2 separate regions of the Homo sapiens genome follow, and region 2 is linked to region 1. The links are contacts of gene promoters, found by promoter capture Hi-C in blood cells and fetal thymus (Javierre and others, 2016). All regions are on one chromosome and are shown on one strand. The core of a region is centred on a gene start or on the middle of the fragment in contact, and the rest is flanking DNA. Distances in the headings are between cores, read along the strand shown.

Region 1 (3,838 bases), core at 1,268-3,767:
AGATACTGACCCTGTGTGACAAACTGAGGAGGCAGAACCTTTGGTGATAAGGAACATGTGACAGGAATAAGAACTCTGTGTATAAAGGGGCCATGTATATCACCCTACACATGGTGCATACATCATGGTACTTAATAAAATGCAGCACTTGTTATTATTGGTATTCGTTGTGTATTGGCCTCAGGGTTCCTGGCTCTGAAAAGACCTGTTCCCATTTTAGGAGAAAAGACTCCAAATCAGGGAATTAAGAAACCACCTGGCTGTTTGGGAAGCATTTAGAAAATATGACAAGAGGTGTCATACACAGGCTAGCAGCAGAAATTTCAAGAAAGATAATTACTGTAAACTTTGTTTTTATTTCCTCTTTTGATTCTGAAATTAGGAAGAAGAGCAGTGTGTTGGAAGCTGGGGTGCAGATGGTAAGTGATGGTCTCCTAAGACTCAGTTCCCGAGTTCTACAAACAGCAACACAGCAAACCCCAGATTGCCACGGGCTCTGATTTTTGTCTCTTAGTATTCATACTTGAAGTGTGGGGTTCCTAGTTGCTGTGCAAAAATGACTGTAGCCATGTTTCCAACTGAGCCTACTGGCGATGTCCAAAGCCCCTGCCAAGAGCCTCAGAGCAGAGACTTTAGTAGAAGATGGAAAATGAGTGACTCAACAGAGCGAGGAAATTGTCTTCTCAGCTTCCTTTAGATTGTCCAGAAAGGGAGATTAGAAAGGCTCCTCAGAACTAACACTGGAAAGGGAGTTTATACCATTAGGGCAAAGATTGGGAGACAAAGGTACTGAAGTCAAATGAGACTTCTGTGAAATACTTTGGAAAGTACAGATTTTGAGACTACATGAACAGCAGCAGCACCAATAACTGTATCACTGGTGCGGGCTATAGACATCAGCTGGGAATGAAGGTGATTCTCAGGGCCCTTAATTTAGCCATCAGCCCCCAGCCAGACCTAAGCCTGCAGCTGGCTGCACAGAGAGGCAGCCTGTTCCATCCTTGGAATTCCAACTTAGGTGACTGCACAAGGCATTTTGGTTTAGTGGTTCCTTAAATAAGACGACATTCCTTTAAGTCTAATCTCTCTCCTGCTGAAATTTCCTACCCTCTTGGGTTTTACCATTAAACTGCTTGCTCTCATCTGAAAAGTGCAGCTAGCAGGGTGCAAGCTAGTGCTCTAGTGACCGTTAAAATCTATCCTAGGACAGCTAGCACGCACGGAAAAACTTGCCATTCGCCGCACACCCACTCCCCCCCGCCCCCACCGCTATTCTTATCAGAGAGAACATGGAAAATATTCTACTCCCTCTTCCCCTTATTGAAGGATGCTGTGTGTACATCTGAATGGGGGTGGGATGCGGGGCGGGAGTGGAGTCTAGCTTTCGGTCCTCAACAAAAACATAATGATTCCCAGCAAGCCAGAGCTGTGCAACCAAGGAGGCAGGATCCTGGCCTCTCTCGGATCTGCAGGAAGGGTGGGCTGTGCGGGTCCAGAGTGGGATGCCCGTTCTGGCCGGCGGTGCCTGCTGAGCCCTTCCTGATGTGACTTTATTAGACAAACCCCCACTCCCGCCAGGGGTAGACACACGAGTATCTGCTTTAGGAAGATTTCTGCAACACGGCAGGGTGCAATTCAAACTCTGGGTTCTCCTTTCCTGAGCTTAGAAACCAATTTGTTCGGAGATAGGAGAAGGCTCTGTTGGCAGAAGACCTAAGAGACGGGAGGAGGCGCCTGGCGTCAGCGGGTCGCTTCTCAGCCGTGACCACGAGCGGCCAGCAGGTGTCAGTGCGTCCTCGCTTTGCCCTGGCGCTCGGCTCCTGGACCCCTCCCCACCTCGGTCTAAGGGGGCGCGGTCCAGACCCCGGGTCTTGCGTTTCCCGCAGACAGCATCGCGGCTGGGAGGACACGTAGCCGCTTCTTCCCTAAGCGGAGGTCTGAACTCCGGCTTGTACCACTTCCCCGTGGGTGCTGTCCATTCCGCCCCAGGGGTTCCATCCGAAGCCGCGCCTTCCTCCCTCTCCAGGACCCCTTTCTCCCCAGCCTCCAGGAGCACCTGCGGACCGCGTCGGCTCTGGCCCGGAGCTGGGCTGCTCCAGACGTAACTCACACCGGAGGTTACTTCCCTCGATTTGGGCGGGGATTCCCTTCCATTTTTTTCTTCCCTTTTCTCCCAAGATCCAGCTTCTTGGGGGCACTCACGGGTGCCCGTTGCGTTCTGCTCCGTCGGCCCGGAGCTGCATGGCCAACTCCCAGCAGGGGCCGCTCCTCCCCTACCCCCCACCCCCGGGCTCCCTCTTTAAGTCTCTAGCTCAAGGTACCCGCCTCTCCAAAGGGCTCGTCCCGCCTGAGGGCAACGCTCCCCGAGGTCCAGCGCTAGGCGCGGGCGCTAGACTGGCGGAGGGGTGGTGCGAGGGGCGGGGGAGGGTCGGCTTCCCACGTGGGGGCTGACGCCGGCTGCTCAGCAACGCTTGCTTGATCCTGGGGCTATAAAACGAGTCCACCGTGAGCGCAGCGGAGCAGCAGCAGCTCCAGCTCGGTGCAGAAGCCCAGCAGCCGGCGTGCCGCCGCCCGGCCACTCCAGCGCCTTCTTCCCCGCCTTGCGCTCCTGCCCCAACTCGCGCTGTCGTCGGACCCCGGCCCATCCAGCAGCGCTCGGCGCCCACCAGGCGGACGCCCAGGAGAACCCCTGCCTCCGTCGCGGCTCCTGGAGAGCTGATCGTTCACCTGCCCCGGCCCGCCTGAGGACGGGGGTGCCTTCATGCGGCCCCCACACTCCTCACCCCGCCGCCGCCGCCGTCCCGGAGCTCCGCACAGTGTGCCCCAGCCCCAGCAGGGCGCACAACTTTGGAAGTCTCGCGGCGCTCCGAGAGGCGGCAGAGTCCGCGCCCCAGCCCCGGGCCGGGCCGGGCCAGAACCGCAGCGTCTGGGGGAAGCCAGAGAGTCGGTAATCGCTTCGGGGATGTAAGGCGACAGACATAGGACCCCCGAGCTCGCATCAGCACCCTTCGGCTGCCTCCCGGGGTGGGGGCGGGCCCCGCACACGGTAAGACCTCTTGCTTTCGCTCAGGCTCAAGATTCAAGATACAGATATTGATATGTATATATATATTTAATTTCCTGTCATCCTTCCAAGTTATCAGGCCACCGATGATTTTTGTTCTCCCTTCTTGAAGAATAAATCTCTCTTTACCCATCGGCTCTCCCTACTCTCTCCCGCCGCTTAGAAATAAAACTTGGCTGTATTAGGAGCTCGGAGCAAGAAGGCGCCCACCGAGAGCGTCTGAAGCGCGAGCCAGGCGCAGTTCGCGGGACCCGGGCCATGGGCCGCTAGCGGTCCTCCAGTTCGGGCCCGGCCTCCCTGCGGCCCCCTCCCTATGTGAGCCGCAGCCAGGCGAGCGGGGCGCCGGAGGAAGAGGAGGACCCACGGGCGCCGGGCCGGAAGGCAGCTGGCAGCAGGCCCAGGCCAGCGGGCGCCCGCGTTCATGTTCCGCCAGGAGCAGCCGTTGGCCGAGGGCAGCTTTGCGCCCATGGGCTCCCTGCAGCCGGACGCGGGCAACGCGAGCTGGAACGGGACCGAGGCGCCGGGGGGCGGCGCCCGGGCCACCCCTTACTCCCTGCAGGTGACGCTGACGCTGGTGTGCCTGGCCGGCCTGCTCATGCTGCTCACCGTGTTCGGCAACGTGCTCGTCATCATCGCCGTGTTCACGAGCCGCGCGCTCAAGGCGCCCCAAAACCTCTTCCTGGTGTCTCTGGCCTCGGCCGACATCCTGGTGGCCACGCTCGTCATCCCTTTCTCGCTGGCCAACGAGGTCATGGGCTACTGGTACTTCGGCAA
Region 2 (3,842 bases), core at 1,243-3,742, 360 kb before region 1:
GCTATTTAATCCTCTCAACAGCCAGGAGGTAGGCCCTGCTGCCAGCCCCATCTCATGGTGCCTCCGGTTCTCAGGTTGGAGAACAACTGAATATTGGGGCTGCCCCACTGGGCCTCCTCAGAGAGCCACTTTTCCATCTTCAGTTCTCTGCCTCCCAGTTAAACTCCCAGCCCCAGTAGGAAGGACTGAGGCGGGAGAAGGAGCTCACAGTTTGGAGAATGCAGTTTTCTTGGAGAGAAGCTGGTCCTTCCCTCCCCCTTCCCCTTTGGGGGCAAATGATGGGGCTTCCTTTTTCCAAAGTTTTCTGTGCAGATAGGGCACCCTGGCATCCAGTTTTCCAGCTAGACACGTGCGTCATCAGGAACAGCTGCCTGCCCTGGGCTCCTGGCACAGGAGAAGGAGAAGTGAGGTCAGGAACCCTTATCCCAAAGACAGGCTTCATGTGAGTCCCAGGCTCTGGACTTGTGGAGCCGGGCAGGTGACGTGAAGGCCACAGTTGGCTGGGACTGCTTTTGCTTGGGGAACCAGAAGGCTCCTACATGTGGAGGTTGTCATGAGACACACCCCTAGAAGGGAATCCGGATTTCTCCAGGGTCATCTAGAGGAGTGGTTTGGGAGGAGGCTCTTGTTACTGTCCCCCAGCCCAAGACCATGGAGGACTTGTGGGGTGCGTGTGTGATTAGACTCCAGCCGGGCGATTGTGGCCACCCCTATCCAGTGGTGCAGGAAAGAGGCCAGGAAAACCAGCCTGGCTAACATGGTGAAATCCCGTCTCTACTAAAAATACAAAAATTAGCTGGGCGTGGTGGTGGGCACCTGTAATCCCAGCTGCTCGGGAGGCTGAGATAGGAGAATTGCTTGAACCTGGGAGGCGGAGGCTGCAGTGAGCTGAGACTGTGCCACTTCACTCCAGCCTGGGAGACAGAGTGAGACTCCATCTCAAAAAAAAAAAAAAAAAAAAAAAAAAAAGAGTCCAGGAGAGGGGAGGTGTGGGAAGGACAGGCCACTGCCACCTTTACCCCAAGCTACCACCACTGCAATAGCTCTTGCCTGGCTGGGAGGAGGGGACAAAAAGAATGTGGAATCAGCTATGAGACTGAAGTTTTGAAATGAACTGAGCTGAGTCTTAGAAATCTAAATGAGACTGGATAATTGCAAGTGACTGAAAAGTCAACGGATGACTTTAAGGAAGTCCCCACTAATGGGGAAAGTCAGAGAAGGGGTTGACATTGCCCAGATGGGGTAGTTATGTAAAAAACGAAGGCATTCTATGTTTGTACTCTGTGAACTGAGACTGCCGCATAAGCCAGCCTCCTTTATCTATCAGTCTGATCCAGAAGAATTATTGATTTATTCATGCATTTATCCCACAATGCTTAGTATCATCTGCGTACAATGCTAGGTACTAGGAAAACAGGACTTCAGGGTTTTGCAAATGTGCTCTCTTCCTACCCACTAGGATTCTGAATTCCTACACAGGGATTGTATCCTTTTTTTTTCTCTGTCCCTCACCTCTGTTTATTGTTGTTACTCATTTAATATTGTAAGGTAATGTGTTGTTGATCTACAGTGGGAAAGTGCTAGCATTGTTTCAGATTCAGGAAGCTTATTCACATTAGTAATGGTAATTTCTTATTAGAATCAGTAATAGTAAGAAGTGATAAGATCCAAGTATGGAAGTAGCATTTTATTTTCTTTTTTCTCCAATTGAATTATCATATATTTTAATTAAGATCATGTTTTATATTATTTTGTGTCATTCTTCAGTAGGAAATGATGCATCAGACCAAACAAGGTGCTCAGTTACAGTTAGTTAATTGTGAGTTCATGTATGGTTTTCAGGTAAGTCATATGCCAGCTCTGGCCCTCATTTTTGTCATCCCTAAGATATTGTGTATGTTTGATTGTGTGGTTGTGTATAGCAGTAGCAATAATAGTGGTGGTATCAGTAGTAATCATTGTGAACAGAGATGATTCTTTTAAAATTAAAAGCTACTGCAATTTAATAGCTACTGCCATAGTCTGAGCATGACATGAGGAGGTTGGCTAGAATATTTCAATCTTTATTGATTGAGGCCAATAAAAACTGATCTAGAGGCTGGGTGCGGTGGCTCACCCCTGTAATCCCAGCATTTTGGGAGGCCAAGGCGGGTGGATCACTTGAGGTCAGGAGTTTGAGACCAGCCTGGCCAAAATGGTGAAACCCCATCTCTACCAAAAATACAAAAATTAGCAGGGCGTGGCAGTGCCTGCCTTTAATCCCAGCTACTCGGGAGGCTGAGGCAGGAGAATCGCTTGAACCTGGGAAGCAGAGATTGCAGTGAGCTGAGATCGCACCACTGCACTCCAGCCTGGGTGTCAGAACAAGATTCTGTGCCCTGCCCCCAAAAAACTGATCTAGAGACCCCAATAATTACCTTTCAGTTATGTCATGAGTGTGTACTTAATCACCTGGACTCCACTATATAATCTGTTTGGCATAAACTGTTTTTGCTCTTTTCTGTGATTCCCCAACACATCTATTACACCCTCTGTAGAGTATCTTAAAATGGTTGCCGTCATCCTGGGTCACCCCTAACTTTGGCGTCCATATTTGTAAAGTGTCTTTTCCTTCCTCTTTGACTGCCTCAGTTTCCCCCAGAATACCTCTTGTGATGCTTCTTTTGTTCTGTCCACTCCCTCAGTGCTTGCTCTATTCTCCCTGCTCTTTAGGGCTTTTAGTGTGAGAATCACAGAAGATAAGTCATTGACATACATACAGGCTTGACTAACGGGGCAGATGCAGAGAAGTGGATTTTTATGGAAAATATATGGAAAGAAACCTGGCCAAAGAGCCATCACTAGGATTCCAGGTCTGGCGTGGCCACAGATCTGCTGTGTGGTCCTAAACAAGTCTGCTACACAGAGTAACGTGCACTAGGCTTAGCTAGTATTATAACTGTTGCTGGTTATTAGATAATCTTTCCTGGCCTCAGTTTCCTTGCTGTTAAGTAAGGAACATGGCTTGAGTGATATCCTGAGTCCTCTCCACTCTCATTTTAGGTGCAATACGATTATAACCCTGACTAGGATAAATCACTAGGGAACAAAGATGAGGCCCTAAATCTCCTGTGTCCCTTATGACACTTTGCACGCTACAGGGGCAGAGTAGTCATTTAATAATTCAGTACTGCAACTGGGTTTTTAGGGCATTGCTGAGGAATTTTTTATTATCTAAATATATGCATTACTGGCAAATTAAAGAATAAATGGACAAATTCTACTCAGCATTTGTACAGTGTTTTGAAAGAGACTCACATTCATCAATTTAATGTCAGCCTCGCAACCATTCCCTAAAGTAGGTAGAGCACATCTGACCTCAATTTATGGATAAAGAAATGGAAGCTTAGAGAGGGGATTATTTTTTTCAGGTTTCCCAGCTAGTAAGTGGCAAGTCTGGAACCACAATCCCGGGCTCCTTATCCCTGTGCCAGTGCGTTTTCCAGCCTACTAAGGACTACGTTTTTGGGCTAGTTGGGAACAGTAAGAAATACTTCATTGTGAAGACTGATAATATTCAGATGTATTAATCCCTAGAAGATACATGGCCCAAAGGATCATCACCCAGGAATGTTATTAGAATGAAGCTTACCCATCTCCTGTGAGGACCTGGCTAAGCAGATCTGTGCCTGGAGTTACAGTCATGGCAGTGCTCCTGATTCTGAAGATGGGCTATGGGAAGAGGACTTTGGGACATGCTAAGCCTCCTGAGTAGACACTTGAGCCTTGGCATAGTTGGGATTAGGGAATGGTAGGAGACCCTCTTAAGAAAGAAAAGAGTGTTCCCTGACTCAAGAGCCTCA

Evidence for each region. Contacts are between HindIII fragments. The CHiCAGO score rates a contact against its expected background, and 5 or more counts as called.
Region 2: a contact is called between a fragment that was not itself captured here and the fragment with the promoter of ADRA2A in region 1, in 3 of 17 cell types (neutrophils, total CD8 T cells and non-activated CD4 T cells). The highest score is 5.7, in neutrophils.

The regions. Positions count from the first base shown.
Region 1 is chr10:111,074,512-111,078,349 of GRCh38, forward strand. It overlaps ADRA2A (adrenoceptor alpha 2A), which reads left to right and starts at 2,518. Exons shown (of 1, transcript NM_000681.4): 1 at 2,518-3,838. The coding sequence starts at 3,486. RefSeq lists a silencer at 2,481-2,530. The HindIII fragment of the contact is 6,739 bases long and covers 1-3,838 here.
Region 2 is chr10:110,710,389-110,714,230 of GRCh38, forward strand. The region is part of intron 1 of RBM20 (RNA binding motif protein 20); the gene reads left to right. Among named protein-coding and RNA genes, the nearest start is that of RBM20, 68 kb to the left of the region's middle. The HindIII fragment of the contact is 1,779 bases long and covers 1,604-3,382 here.